Linked DNA regions of Homo sapiens: region 2 is linked to region 1. Evidence: promoter capture Hi-C in 16 types of primary human blood cells and fetal thymus (Javierre and others, 2016). All regions are on one chromosome and are shown on one strand. Each heading gives the region's core, a stretch centred on a gene start or on the middle of the fragment in contact. The rest is flanking DNA. Distances are from core to core; before and after follow the strand shown.

Evidence for each region. Contacts are between HindIII fragments. The CHiCAGO score rates a contact against its expected background, and 5 or more counts as called.
Region 2: a contact is called between a fragment that was not itself captured here and the fragment with the promoter of DCBLD2 in region 1, in 1 of 17 cell types (fetal thymus). The highest score is 5.0, in fetal thymus.

Annotation. Positions count from the first base shown.
Region 1 is chr3:98,899,682-98,907,488 of GRCh38, forward strand. DCBLD2 (discoidin, CUB and LCCL domain containing 2) reads right to left here and starts at 2,014. Exons shown (of 16, transcript NM_080927.4): 1 at 1,441-2,014. The coding sequence starts at 1,645. LOC105374002 (a long non-coding RNA gene) reads left to right here and starts at 2,333. Exons shown (of 2, transcript NR_189121.1): 1 at 2,333-2,836; 2 at 5,212-5,715. RefSeq lists enhancers at 913-1,629, 1,630-2,345 and silencers at 1,453-2,142, 2,283-2,332. The HindIII fragment of the contact is 5,361 bases long and covers 1-4,603 here.
Region 2 is chr3:101,567,783-101,574,915 of GRCh38, forward strand. It overlaps PCNP (PEST proteolytic signal containing nuclear protein), which reads left to right and starts at 6,398. Exons shown (of 5, transcript NM_020357.3): 1 at 6,398-6,497. The coding sequence starts at 6,434. RefSeq lists enhancers at 5,609-6,554, 5,998-6,267, 6,368-6,497, 6,578-6,737, 6,758-6,917. The HindIII fragment of the contact is 1,391 bases long and covers 2,931-4,321 here.

The DNA of each region.
Region 1 (7,807 bases), core at 764-3,263:
TACTCTGCCTATGGAGTAATATGCCCTCCTGCATCAAGGTACCTTATATTCTTTGTGTCTCAATGTCCTTACGTTTGAACTGGGATAACAATAACTATCTCAGCTGATTGTAGTGAAGATTCAAGGAGTTAATAAACCCAAACCACTTAGTCCAGTTGTTCCAGCCACAAAGTAAGCCCTAAGTGTTAGCCATATATAAGCCTGTTTTCCCCCCTACCAGGAGGGAAATACATCTCTACAGTGGAAAGAAGGATTTCACACTTTAATATATTAAATGATGATGATGTTCAGTAATTTTAGAAGACGATCTAACTAAAACCTAAATGCTAAGCATCTAAATTTTGAGTTACTCTATATAGAAACGTGTCTAGATGTAAGGGGTCAGTTTGCCAAATACATTTTTTCCTTATAGTTACAGAGATTATATTTCCACATGCCTGTCAAGGTTCGGCATCTTCTTAATGACAGGCCATGATTCCATACTTCACTGAAAACCATGAGAGCAACATAAAGCTGGGCTTAAAGGCAGAGAACAATTTTCTTTTTAAAAAACTCTCTTCCTAGCAATAAGTAACAATCCAATCCTTATCCTTCCCACTGCAATAAAATGGAAAATGCAATGGAAATATCTTTTCAAAAACTGATGCCAAACTGATTCAAAAAGTGTGGTACACTACGGGAAAACAGTACTAAAGGGGAAAAGAAATCACCCTGCATTCTCCTTCCATTATGATAAGTATTTAATAAACAGTTTTGCCTGTTTCTGGAACAGGTTTTTCAAGGATTGTAGGTGGAAAAAAAAAAAAGTTTTGTCACTTTCTGGAAAGGCTTACCTTTTTAATGTGGAGAGCTTCACTTGGGCAAATTAGCATAGCGTTGGGTCAGACCCAGTGTTTGACCAAGGCAGTCTAGACCACCAGCCTCAATGATGGATTGTAAAGAACATGTTCTGAATCCAAGACTCAGAGATAAGCAGAAACTATTCCATTCGCTTCAGAACCCGGGCTCTTTCACAAAGGATCATAATTACCACCACTTACCTTTAATAGGCTTAAGATGCTATTTAATTAACCTGCCTTCCTACAGTGTCCATCCATCCGTGCAGCTTAACTTTAGGGGTCATTACCTCCAAAGGTTCTTTTTCCTCCCCAAAATTTTCCCCAGAAGGACCTAATATCAACGAGGCTTTCATAGCAGGGTCTCACGTCCCCCTTTCAGAAAAATAAATGGCCTTGCCAAAAAGTAAAGCCGCGCCAACTTGGGGGACAGACGGGCAAGACCTTGCCTTTGCAACTCAACCCCGTGAGTACCCAGCCAGGTCCGGCCACGCACGAAAGCGCACCGCGCCTCCCTGCAGCGTCTGCAGATTTGTTCAGGGGCCAAGAGACCCGCAGCCCCGACGGAGGTTCCCCCGCCGCTCACTCCCCTGGGACCACTCACCTTGCTGGGCTCCAGCGTCCTCGAGCAGCAGGAGCAGGACAAGTAAGAGCAGGAGGAACAGAGGCATGGAGAAGGAGGAGGAGTTGGAGCAGGGAGGGAGGGAGCGGGAGAGGGGGAGCGCGGCCCAGGCGGGGGCGGCGGCCGCGGCCCGGACTTGGGGACACTGCGGGCAGCGCCTGGCTCTCACCACCGCCCGGCTCGCCATCGCGGCGGCCGGCAGTCTGCCTGCATAGTGCGGGTGCCTCGGCAGCCCCGCGCGCCTCTGGCCGCGGCACCCGACCAGGAGACGGCGGCAGCGGCGGGAGAACAAGAGGCAGCCCTCGCCTCACCCCGCGCCGGGACCCTTCCGCCCCTCACCCCGCTTTCACCTACTCCTCCTTCGTCCCTTCCCTCCGCTCCCCGCGCCGAGACCCCAGGCCGGAGCGCAGGGGAGGGGAGGGAAGGAAGCGGAGTCCTCGAGCCGCGGAGGACGGCCGCGGCGGAGCTAAGGAACGTGCCTCCCGCGCCGCGCTCCTCACCAGGGTCGCCGCTCGCCGCGCTCACCCGCGGCTCCGGCTAGCTGGCAGGCAGGCCCGCAGCCAGCTCCCTCGCGCTCCCTCTCGCGCGCGCCGGCCACGCCCCCTAGGCACCGCGGCCAATCCTCGGCCAGCTCTGGTCCGTCTCCTTCCGCGAAACCCAATCAGCATGCTCGCTCCTCGCTCGACCCGCTAGTTCTCCGGCCCATTCCTCGAGCTCCACCGCCCCTTACCTCCCTCTTCCAATCCCCTTCGGCCTTTGGAGGCGTCCCACCCGCCTCCTCCAATCCAGGTCCCGCCCTCCAGCTTCGGATCCCCGCGGCCCCCGCCCGGCCCGGGCGCCTGTTATTGTTGGGCCCTCAGCCCAAACTGATCCCGCAGAGGCGGCAGCCAGCTCGTCAGTGACTTCCGGGACGTCCCCCATCCCGCGCTCCCTGCTCCTCAGGCCCAGCTTGCTCCTTGCTCCTTTCTCCTCGCTCCTCCGACGCACATCAGACCACTGGAAGGGGGTGGGAAACCTGGATCCTGGGTTGTTTTAGCTGGGAGCTGAGTCTAAGGGACTTTTTTTTTTTTTTTAATGGCAGAGCGTGGCTTGTTTTGTTAAAACTGCCGCCAGTTGTTGCAACAGCTCCGAGTTAGAATAATAGATGCAGTGTTCAGTTTTTAATATATGTGTTCCCTGTTTTCTCTGCTCTTTTTATGGCGGGGGGTGGGGGACAAAAAAGTGTAAAACAAGATCCGTGCCGCAAAGGCAATTTAAACCTAACATCCCAACCTTCATGCAGCCATTCTACAAGGAGTTGTTGAGCACCTGCTGTCTATCTACAGAAATCTTGAAATGTGGAACAGAGATGGAAATATAGCATGCAAGTCAGAATGAAGTAAGTGCTAATTAGAGTCACAAGCAGTTTGATGGAGACTGTAAGCCTATGGAACGACAAAAAGAATTTTAGGAAAGAGGAATGCAGAGGTCTACGCAGTGATTTATTTTAGAAGAGAGTGGCCATGTAGGATGTTTTTAACAGCAGTCCCTGAAAGGACAATGGTGTCATTAGCAAATACAAAAAACTGCTAAGGTGGAACAAGTTGTGTGGGAAAGTAAGTTAATTTTGGACGTATTGAATTTGAGATGCCAACTTAGATAATAAGTGAAGCTATGTAACAGGCAGATGGATATTTTAGTCGAAAGCTCAGATTGAGAGCTTTGAAATTATGGCTCTGGGAGTCATACATAGCCATACATGTATACATATACATATGTATACATAGTCATACATAGATGTGATATTCAAAAACATGGAAGGGACTGATATCCTTCAATGAAAGTCTAAGTTGGAAAGGACTTTGGAGGTCGTATGTTTCAACTCCCCTGCATATTTCTTATACAATAATCTCTTTAACCAAATTTATTCAATTAACATTTATTAAATGCCTAAGAAACCCTATTATGCTCTAAGCCATTGTGGGCATTGGGCATAAAAAGTTTACTGAGAAGAACTTACATTCTGGAGGAGGAGGTGACATGTAAACAAACCTATTGTTATTAGTGCCCTGTTAGAGGTGTGGACTGGTGCCACAATACCACAGTGAACGGAGTTCAAAAAAACCCGTCAGTTTGAAATGCCAGTGTCTTGAATAAGAAACTAAAGTGAAAAAGGTGATCTCAGGCCAGAGGCAAAATAGGCTGGGTCACAGGCTCAATAGGGAATGGTGTTGATGGAGCTGGATTGACTACTGCTGACGTAATGGGAGGAACTGGAGACTAGTCTGGAAAAGTTAGGAGGGGCAAGATGTAAGGCAAGCTAAGAGTCAAGATTTTATTTTGTATCACTGGAAAATAACTAAAGGGTTCTAAGAAAGAATGACATTGTCAGTTTTTTTTTTGTTTTTGTTTTTGTTTTTGTTTTTTTTGAGATGGAGTTTTGCTCTTGTTGCCCAGGCTGGAGTGCAATGGCATGATCTCGGCTCACTGCAACCTCTGCCTCCCGGGTTCAAGCGATTCTCCTGCCTCAGTCTCCCTAGTAGCTGGGATTACAGGCATGTGCCACCGCACCCGGCTAATTTTGTATTTTTAGTAGAGCCGGGGTTTCTCCATTGTTGGTCAGGCTGGTCTCGAACTCCCGACCTCAGGTGATCCACCCGCCTCAGCCTCCCAAAGTGCTGGGATAACGGCGTGAGCCATCGCGCCCGGTCATTATCAGGTTTTTATTGTAAAAACCCCAATCAGCCAGTAGGGTGAGGAATACATTGGTGTAAGAGCAAGACTGGAAGCCAGGGAGAGCCAGTCTGCAGTTAAAGGGAGTGATGGTGAGTTTTTAGTGCATTAAAAGTGGGCTTGGGAAGGCGGGACCAACTAGGGGAATATTTTTAAACTTGGTGACTGATTATGTGGAGTGTAAGGAGTTGAGGAAGTCTCCAGGTTTCTGGTAGAAGGTGATGTCTTTCCCACAGTAAGGAGTACAAGAAGGAGAATTGGTTTGGTTGGATAAAGAAGTAGAAGTTAAAAATCATAAATTCAGAATTGAACCTATCAGACATGATGTGCTAATGTGGCAAGCAGTCAGTCATGAAATAAGATTTCTAGTAGTAGTGCCTGAGACAACCTATTTCATGTGGAATCACTCCTTTCATAGGACCATTGAAAGAGAAGCTTGAGGTCACAGATGTGGTGGCAGAGCAAGGTAGTGTGAATCTTAGCCTGGCATTCTATTGACTACATAGAACTGTGGCAGAGGCAGAGAATTCACCTAAGAACTAGCACAGTTATGGAGCATTTCTGGAAGAGGCAAAATTTGGTCTCTAGCAACCCCTACCCCTTTAATATAGCAGGAAAAGATCCCGACTACATACGTGTAAAGCAAGAGGAAGGAGCACTTACATTTCTCATCACTGTTTTACTTACTGTCTAGTGTTTTAAAGTTGTTAAAAGTAGAGACTAGAGAGGTGAAGAGGTTCTGAATTAGGTCACTGGCAGGGAAAAAGAGAGGGAGGTGGGAGCAAGTTGGAGTTATATTTAAAGCAGCAAAATCAGAAGGTCTTAGTGACTGATGCCATTTGACTATTTCTGTGTTATTTTATGCCTCAGCTTCCGGAGTTTCGCTTTGGAAGACAGGGTCTGGAAGTCTGGCTAGAGAACATTTGTGGTGCCCCCTATTGCTTTATGTATATAGAAAATTACAAATATAGCACAGATGTGGGAGAGGATTGATGCTGTTGCACCCATATTCTCTCTTCTGATTATTGTCTCTCTACTTAGTTGCCAAACAATGACAGAAGGCTGCTCTGAAATGATCAAAATTTTCTCCTGGGACCTCACACCAAAGGAATATAATAGGCATTCATTTCTAAGACAATGCGGGTAAAGTGGAATTCTAGTTTATATTACCTTTCTTATTCTCTGCATGCTGCTCTAGACAACTTTGTCATGATCCTTGCTTCTGGGGACTTGGTTTGTTTGGGGAATGACATCTTATGAGGCAGTGGGAGCAATACTTGTCCAGGACCATTTTACCCATGCAACCCAGATGCATAACCCAGGGGCAGAACTGGGGATTCTAATCAAGTCTCAAAGTGGATAGGTTTGGAGAGGGCCATCATTGTAGCACATAGAGGCTCCAAGAAGCTACAGTTCCTCCACAAGGCAAGCCCAGGTTCTGGCTTCTTTTTACAGGGTTTCAAAAGTGTGTATTATTTTATTGTATTTCTGGTTGTTTACTCTACATTAAGATATTTAAAAATAAAAATAGATTCTCAACCTAAATTTTAATTTTTTATCTCTCTTCCTCTTTTTCTCATTCTTTATTTCATGTTTCTTAATCAGTAAAGAATGGAAGAATAGGCCGGGCGCGGTAGCTTACACCTGTAATCCCAGCACTTTGGGAGGCCGAAGCGGGCGGATCACGAGGTCAGGAGATCGAGACCATCCTGGCTAACACAGTGAAACCCTGTCTCTACTAAAAATACAAAAAATTAGCCGGGCATGGTGGCGGGCGCCTGTAGTCCCAGCTACTCGGGAGGCTGAGGCAGGAGAATGGCGTGAACTCGTGAGGCGGAGCTTGCAGTGAGCCGAGATTGCTCCACTGCACTCCAGCCTGGGTGACAGAGCAAGACTCCCTCTCAAAAAAAAAAAAAAAAAAAAAGACCGGGTGCAGTGGCTCATGCCTGTAATCCCAGCACTTTGGGAGGCTGAGGCGGGCAGATCACGAGGTCAGGAGATCGAGACTATCCTGGCTAACACCGTGAAACCCCGTCTCTACTTAAAATACAAAAAATTAGCCGGGTGTGGTGGTGGCGGGTGCCTGTAGTCCCAGCTACTCGGGAGGCCGAGGCAGGAGAATGGCATGAACCCAGGAGGTGGAGCTTGCAGTGAGCCGAGATGCACCACTGCACTCCAGCCTGGGTGACAGAGTGAAACTCCGTCTCATTAAAAAAAAAAAAAAATGGAAGAATGAAGAAAATCAAATTAATCTATAGGGAAAAGGGGAAATATAAAAAGAATAGTTACATTTTACTATTCCTACTTTCAAATGAATCCAAGCTCAGCCAACTGCTAAGGAAATTAGAATGTAGGAAAAGAACCTGGGGGCTGGTGCCTTTGTTTCTGTCTGTGCAGAAACATCTGGGTTTCAATGAAATGGTACCGTAAGAATCATTTGGCACCCATCATTGCTATTAAATGTCTGTTAGCATTAATGAAACAAAAGAGGCTCATTAAAAATGGCATTTATACTGGAAACCTTAGGAGGATGGTATGTAATGAATCATTGGTGAGCTTTATCAGTGACTGTGTATTTTTGGCAGGATAACAGAAAGAGGGAATGAACAAGAATGTACTTTTGTGATCTTCCAGTGGGGTAGGAGAGAAAGAAGATTGTGGCAGTTCTGGGGAAATACTTCAAACATCAAAGACCAGAGCCTTAAGATCTGGTTACTGTTCTCACAGGAGCATTTTCTTTGTCCTGTTGACTGTTTGGGAAAATGTTTACAGCCAACTTTGCTGCTAAATGTCTGAATTCCGCTGAAGACACTTTCTTTCTGTGAACAGAAGTGTTTTGGACACATTTTTCTCTTTATCTTGTATGCTTTTTTCAGTTACTTATTTCAGTCAACTCTCCTAAGTTTATTACTCATATTTTCTTAACACTTATAAACTTTTTAAAAGATATTTGTTATAGCAAATTTAAGGCAAAAGTGCCAGAAATCTAATTTATTATAGAAGGTATTTAATTTCTGCCAGTGGATGATAATGTTAAATATTTCTCTTAAAAGATTAACATTTGTATATATCAGCAACATGACTAACTTTTAGCATTTTCCATTTGCATCTTCATCTACTGCAACCATCTTACTCTCTTTCTCTCTCTCCATCTCTTGCCCCAGTCTCTCTCACACTCTTGGTTTTTCTAGGAACTTTAGGAAATTAACCAATTCATTTTCTTATGGGTCATGACAAGAAGAAGGCTTCAGTCTAGTATTTTATCTCTGATGGAGATTTCAAAGGATTTTAGTAAAAGCATGTGAAAACTGCCTTCCATAACATTATTATCATGCCTAGAAATTAGGAAATTAATTATACATGGATGGTTAACATAGCAGTAAAATGTGAATAGTGACCATGCTAGTATATCTGAGATAATATGATTTAGGTAACCTGCAGGCCTCCCCTGCTATATGCCTGTATCCTTTCCTGTGGGACTTTTGCTGGCAACGCAGTTGAGAATTAGATGTACAGAGTTGAAATGCTCTTTGGATTCTGAGAAATTAAGTTTTGTGAGATAATGGAAACAGCCCTAGATAAGACTCTTGTATACAATTTCTGCTTGAAAGTGCTATATAACCTCCAGCAAGGCTCC
Region 2 (7,133 bases), core at 2,376-4,875, 2.7 Mb after region 1:
TCTCCACCCCCCACCCCCATGGTTTTGTATATTTATTCTTTGTGAAAACACGTAACAAACTTTTTCCTCCAGCCCAGATATAGATCTCAGATGGGTGATTTTTTTTTTCCCTCCCCTCCTTGGATGATTTCTTTTCTTCCTCTGTCTCTGATTCTTGTTGTCTTTTCTTGCCCACTTGCTACCACCGCCCCATTTGGGGATCTTCCTCTTGTCTTCTTCTCCTCCCACCTGCCCCACCCCACCCCAAATTGGATTCAGTTTAAAATGATGACTTTGGCTATGTCGAGAATAGATTATGAGAGAGACCAGTTAGGAGGCTATTGCAGTAACAAAAGTGAGAGATAATAGTAGGTTGTAGGAGGGTGGTAACAGAGTAGGTAGTGAGACACAGTCAGATCTGAATGTGTTTAGTAAGAGAGAAAATTTAGGGAAGACTTCAAGATTGTTGACTAGAGAAACTGGAAGGACTTGTTACTATTTACCGAAATGCAGAAGCTTTGAGGGGGCAGGTAATCCAAAGTTAACTTTGGGACATTTTACAGTTGCCTATTAGATGTCCAAGTGGAGATATCAAGTGGTCAGTTGGATATATGAGCCTGGAGTTCAGAGACAAGGTCTGGCTGGAGATGTTAATAATGTAATTAGTTAAATGCTCCAGACTAGTTGAGGCCATCTAGGGAGTCTGTGTGGATAAAGATATCAGATGTCTGAGCCCTAAGGTACTCCAACATTTAGAGGTGTGAGAGATGAGAAGAACCCAGCAAGTAAGACTGAGGTAGAGCAACCAGTAAGAAAAGAGAGAAAATGTCCTGGAGGCAAAATGAAAAAAAGTGTTTCATGCTGCAGATCAGGTAAGATGAAGTCTGAGAGCTGACCACTGAATGTAGGAATGAGGACATTGCTGATTATCTTGACAACAGCAATTTCAATAGAGGATTGAAAAGAAAGCCAACTGGAGTAGGTTTAAAAGAGAATGGACAAGGCCGGGTGTGGTGGCTCAGGCCTGTAATCCCAGCACTTTGGGAGGCCGAGGCAGGCAGATCACCTGAGGTCGGAAGTTCGAGACTACCCTGACGAACATGGAGAAACACCATCTCTACTAAAAATACAAAAAAAATTAGCCGGGCATGGTGGTGCATGTCTGTAATCCCAGCTACTTGGGAGGCTGAGGCAGGAGAATCGCTTGAACCCTGGAGGTGGAGGTTGCGGTGAGCCGAGATCACACCATTGCACTCCAGCCTAGGCAATAAGAGCAAAACTCCTCAAAAAAAAAAAAAAAAAAAAGGAAATGGACAGGCGGAGCACGGTGGCTCAAAGGTCAGGAGTTTGAGACCAGCCTGGCCAACATGGTGAAACCCCAGCTCTACTAAAAATACAAAAATTAAAATTAGCCAGGTGTTGTGGCACAGGCCTGTAATCCCAGCTACTCAGGAGACTGAGACAGAAGAACTGCTTGAAGCCAGGAGGCGGGGGTTGCAGTGAGCCGAGACTGTGCCACTATACTCCAGCCTGAGTGACAGAGCAAGACTCCGTCTCAAAAAAAACAAAAACGAAAAGAAGGGACGGGACTAGGTGTGGTGGCTCATACCTGTACTCCCAGTACTTTGGGAGGCCAAGGCAGGTGGATCCCTTGAGTCCAGGAGTTTGAGACCAGCCTGGGCAACATTGTGAAACCCTGTCTCTACAAAACTTAGCCAGGGATGGTGGTGTTCACCTTTAGTCCCAGCTACTTGGCGGGCTAAGCCAGGAGGATCGTTTGAGCGTGTGATGTGGAGGTTGCAGTGAGCCAAGATCATGTCATTGCATTCCAGGTTGGGTAACAGAGCAAGACCCTGTCTCAAAAGATAAAAAAAAGAATGGACAGAGATATAGGAGACAGAGTATGAACAATCTTTTCAAAGTTTCTATATGAAGGAAAATAGGAATGAGGAGCTACAGGAAGATATGAGATCAAGAGAAGAGTCTTTTACTAAGATAGGAGACATAAAAGCATGTATGTATGATGTTGGGAATGTTTCAATAGTAGAAAGAAAAATCGGATGGAACAATAGTGATGTGTGTAAACAAGGACAGGCTCCACTTCATAAGTAACAGAACACATAGTATATAGGTATAAATGCAGGTACCACACCTCAGATATGGTTGAGAATATATAGAAGTTCTGTTTGATTACTATTATTTTCTCACTGAAAATAAAAAGCAAAATCATCCCAAGTGGGAGGACGTAATGGACATTTTTGGAGAGCCAACAAAACATGAAATAGTATAGGAAAGTGAGTGAATTAGGGCAGTGGTTCTCAAAGTGTGGTTCCCCAACGAGCAGCATCAGCATTACTTGGGAACTAGTTAGAAATGCAAATTTTAGGGCTCCAGCCATTGAGTCAACTGAATCAGAAACTGGCAATGGGGCCCAGCAATCTGTTTTAACATGTCCTTCAGGTGATTCTGATGTACACTGAAATTGAGAATAGTCTGAGGACATGTAATAGAATTATAAGGCTACATTAAGAACCTACTTAATGGCTCATGCCTGTAATCCGAGAATTTTGGGAGGCTAAGGCAGGAGGATCACTTCAGCCCAGGAGTTCAAGGCTGCAGTGAGCTATGAGCCACTGTACTCTAACCTGGGCAACAGAACGAGATCCTGTCTCAAAACAAAAACAAAAACAAAACAAAAAAAAGAACCTACTTAAGGTTAGTGAAATCAAGATTAGCCACTTTTCTTCTCCACTCTAATTTTTTTTTTTTTTTTTTTGGTAGCTCTTGGCCTGAATTTCAAGTTCAGCTCCACTTCTTACTTATCTTTTCCGTGCCCAAATTCCCTCTTCCATAAAAATGGGAGTAACAGTAGCACTTAATTCACAGGGTTGTAATGATTTAATGTACTGAATTTCATGTAGAATACCTGCAACAATGCTTGGTGTATAGTAAGCTTGAATAAATGTTAGATATTATAGTTGTCGCCTCACAAATTACACATCTAAATTAAAATAATAATTGCTCATATTACCTTCCATTTCCAGCCTTTTAAACCACTTAAATAGCTCACTAGAGGTTATAATCCATAGCTACTATGAAGCAAGCTCTCACCATGGCCAGGCAGCATATTATAGATTTAACCTTTATTATCCCAATGCCCTCAGTAACCCTATATGTATTATTCCATTTGTATAGTTATAACATATTCCATAACATTGTTATCCAGTACAAACTCACAGAATTAGCAAAATGCAGAATTAGAATTTAAGTCGAGTTTTTGTGTGGTGCAAAACTAATGCTCTTTGCCTTGGACTACATTGCCTATTCATTGTCAGAAAACGGTACCCCAAAATTTGGTGCTTTGACATGCTGAACTAGAGAAGCAGCCGCAAGGTTTCTCTGATCTCCCCACCCCACCTCCTGCCTCTCAATCCTCTGCCTCCCCCAAAACACGGGATAAGACTGTTCTTTGAAGTTTCTTATCTACCTAGAAACCACACACATCAAAGAACACAATTGCTTTCTATCTGCTTCCTCCCTGAAATTTCATTAACCAGAAGAAATTAAAACATATCACAAAGCCAGATACAGTGGTGCACACATGTAGTCCCAGCTACCTGTGAGTCTCAGATGGGAGGATTCTTGAGGCCAGGAGTTTGAGGCTGTAGTGTGCTATCATCATGCCTGTGAATAGCCACCACACTCCAGCCTGGGCAACACAGTGCGACCTGGTCTCATAAAAAAACAAAACTCACATCATAGAGGAAGAGACTGAAAATTAACCACCACACTTAGAGCCCAAACTTTGCCTCAAACTACTGTTTTTTGTTTTTGAGACAGGGTCTCACTCTGTCACCCAGGTTGGAGTGCAGTGGCGAGATCTTGGCTCACTGCAACCTTGCCTCCGGGGCTCAAGTGATCCTTCTATCTCAGCCTCCCTAGTAGCTGGGATTATGGGAGTGAGTCACCACGACTGGCCTTCGAATTATTATTGGTTCTCTAGTTTCACTTGGTTTACAAAGAGAATAATTTACAAGTGAATTTCTGCATTAATCTCTCCTAAAATCATTTACTACTCCTCTAAAATTGCCTGTAGCCCCCCCACCTCTCTCTCCCCTATGAAAAGTATTAAACTTCAACCATCTGACCCTTTTTTTAGTTTTCTTATTTTGTTGTATCATTCCCATGCTTATGCACATTAATTTTCTCTTGTTAACCTGTCTTTTATTAACAAGCATGTTGTCATGACTCTTTTGATGGGGAGGAAAGTGATCACCCCCTTTCCACCCCTTCATACTACACTACCTTTCCATTTCCTAACCCGTTTGTAGGAGGTTACTGAAGCTTGCATTAATTTCTTCAATAGATATTTATCCAGACTAGTATAATCCAGGTGCTGGGGAAACAGTGGTGAACAAGACAGGCACACCTCATGAAACTCACAGAACTGAAAGGTGAATGGATTACTATCTTCATCCTTTTTTTGTTTCGTTTTTTTCCTTTCATACCTAGTCCTGCACATGCATCCTTAACTTCTGCAGTGTGGTATATGGGAACTGGATCCGCTCCTAAATAGGTATGTGACTTCTCTGAGCTTTATCTTCTTCACTTAAAAATTACAAGCATCGGCCGGGCACGGTGGCTCACGCCTGTAATCCCAGCACTTAGGGAGGCTAAGGTGGGCGGATCACAAAGTCAGGAGTTCGAGACCAGCCTGGCCAACATAGTGAAACCCCGTCTCTACTAAAAATACAAACATTAGCCGGGTGTGGTGGCACGCGCCTGTTGTCCCAGCTACTCGAGAGGCTGAGGCAGGAGAATCGCTTGAACCCAGGAGGCGGAGGTTGCAGTGAGCCAAGACCATGCCATTGCACTCCAGCCTGGGTGACAGAATGAGAGACTCCATTCCACCCCCCATAAAAAATTACAAGCATCTGTAAATACATAATCTCAAATAAAAATCTTCGTGTATATCTCCATTTTTAAAATGATAGAAACGAGAGTCTCAATGATTACCTTGAAAAGATCACAAGGAAAATGAAACAAACATGAATTAAGTACCTGTAAGATAGTTTGCTGGTTACTTTTACATATATGATAAATGATGGATCAGGGACTTCAACCTAGATCACAAAATCACCACCACACTGCCCTGCTTCTGTCATGGGAAACACACTTTGATAATTTCTTCATTCTTTCTCCACTCCCTGGACTTGAAGCCCGAGAAGTAATCCATCCGCAAATATTGAACACTTTTTATATTCATATATGAAACGCACAGTACACAGTTTTTAAAAACTGGTCTCTGTTGTCAAGGAACTTTTGAGCCATTCAGAGAGACAACACTTAAAACACACACACACACACACACACACACAAACTGAGGGAAGTATGAAGTGACCAAATAATGGTATACAAAGATGATCTCATTTGATCCCTATTACCACTCTTTGAGGAGGTACTATTATTATTGCTCTTTTATAGAGAAGAAAAGGTAGCTCTGTAGGCAGTAAGCAAGTCTCAAGGTTACTCAAGCAGGAAAGGGCAAAACAGATTCAAATCCAAGTTCTGACTCCTAAGACTTTCTCTAACTATATATGGTAAGACAAACCCAGAAACTCCAGTTCCCTAAGCAAGTAATAGACCCCATTTGGCTAGGAGGGCTGGATAAATACTGAGAAAGGGGGAAGATGAAGCCGAAAAGGTAGGCTAGGGCCTAATGTAACTCACGGACTTCAGAATGCAGACTGTAGGAATCCACTAAAGGTTTCTTATTAAGGCAGAAATTACTGCAGTCTTAACTTGACATAGTAGTTTCTCAACTTGGTAGAAGCAGACTATACAAAAAGTAACTTTACAGTTGGCTACGTGACTTAGACAAATTACTCTCTCTGACCTCAACTCTTACAGGTAATTGAGAGGAGAATTCTATATTTGGACAATCGCCGTGATTAAACGAGTGTATGAAAGGCGTCTGAAGCTAGGGGGCGCTAGATAAACACTGATTTCCCCTTTAGGGAAAAAGAATGCAGGCTTTTTGTTTACATAGAGTTGGCAGGCATGCGTTATCCAGCAAGGCCGGAACGGAAGACACTCTCAGCCTCAGCTGCAACCACATCTGGGTATGCAGAAACCTTCTAAGATCCCAGCGTTTCCAGGGAGATGCTCCATTTCCCCTCACTTCTCCGGACCTGTCGCTAGACCATGAAGACCTGACTGCCCTCTAATAAAGTGCCTAGCCAGCACTCTTAGACCGCCCAACCTTCCCAGCTCTTCCTTCCGAGGCGGCTACTCGATGACATCACATCCACTTCCGCTTCCGAAGGCGGCCTCTTTTCATTCCTCGGGACCGCTCTAGGCTGCCACCACGCCGGCTGGCCCCAAAAACTCGATGGTTGTTGGGCGGGGTCGTGACGTCCTTGGCGTGGCTGCAGGGGAGGCCGCGGCGGGGAAAATGGCGGACGGGAAGGCGGGAGACGAGAAGCCTGAAAAGTCGCAGCGAGCTGGAGCCGCCGGAGGTGAACACAACCCCAGCGTCGTGGGCAGCGTGGGATGCTCCGGGCCTTTCTTTGAGCTCCCAGGGTGGGGGGAGTGGGGTGGGGCGAGAATGGGCGGATCTGGACCTCACCCGGCCAGGTGTTGGGCCCAGACCTGCCTCGGGCACGCCCGATGCGGCCCTCTGGGCTCCGGGCCTACATCGCCTCCTTGCCTGGGGAGAGCCGGCCACTGTTCGTCACCTCCTGGCCCCAGCGGAGGCCCTGATTCCGAGGAGAAGGGAGATGGGCGCCAGAAAGGGAGACCGAACTCGGGGTGGGACCAGGAGCGGCGGTGCAGGAGCCGCTACCGCCACACCGGAGACGCACATCACACAAAACACACACACCGGAGACGCTCATGAGACATAACATACACACAGTGCGAGCCACCGAGTAGTTGCCGCGGGAACTGGCCGCAGGCTGAGTTTCTGACGGTGCCGGCCTCTCAGTTACACGCAGGAGTTAATTACGCTTGCTGCTCCCTTTTCACTGAGGAGGTGGACAACTCCGGCCTGCTCTCTTTCCTTTACTTCCAAGTTTAATATTGACCCTGTGACAGGATGGGCCGAGGTGATGGAGGGGAAGAGGAATGCCTTTGCCTGCCCTCTGGTTTAAGCT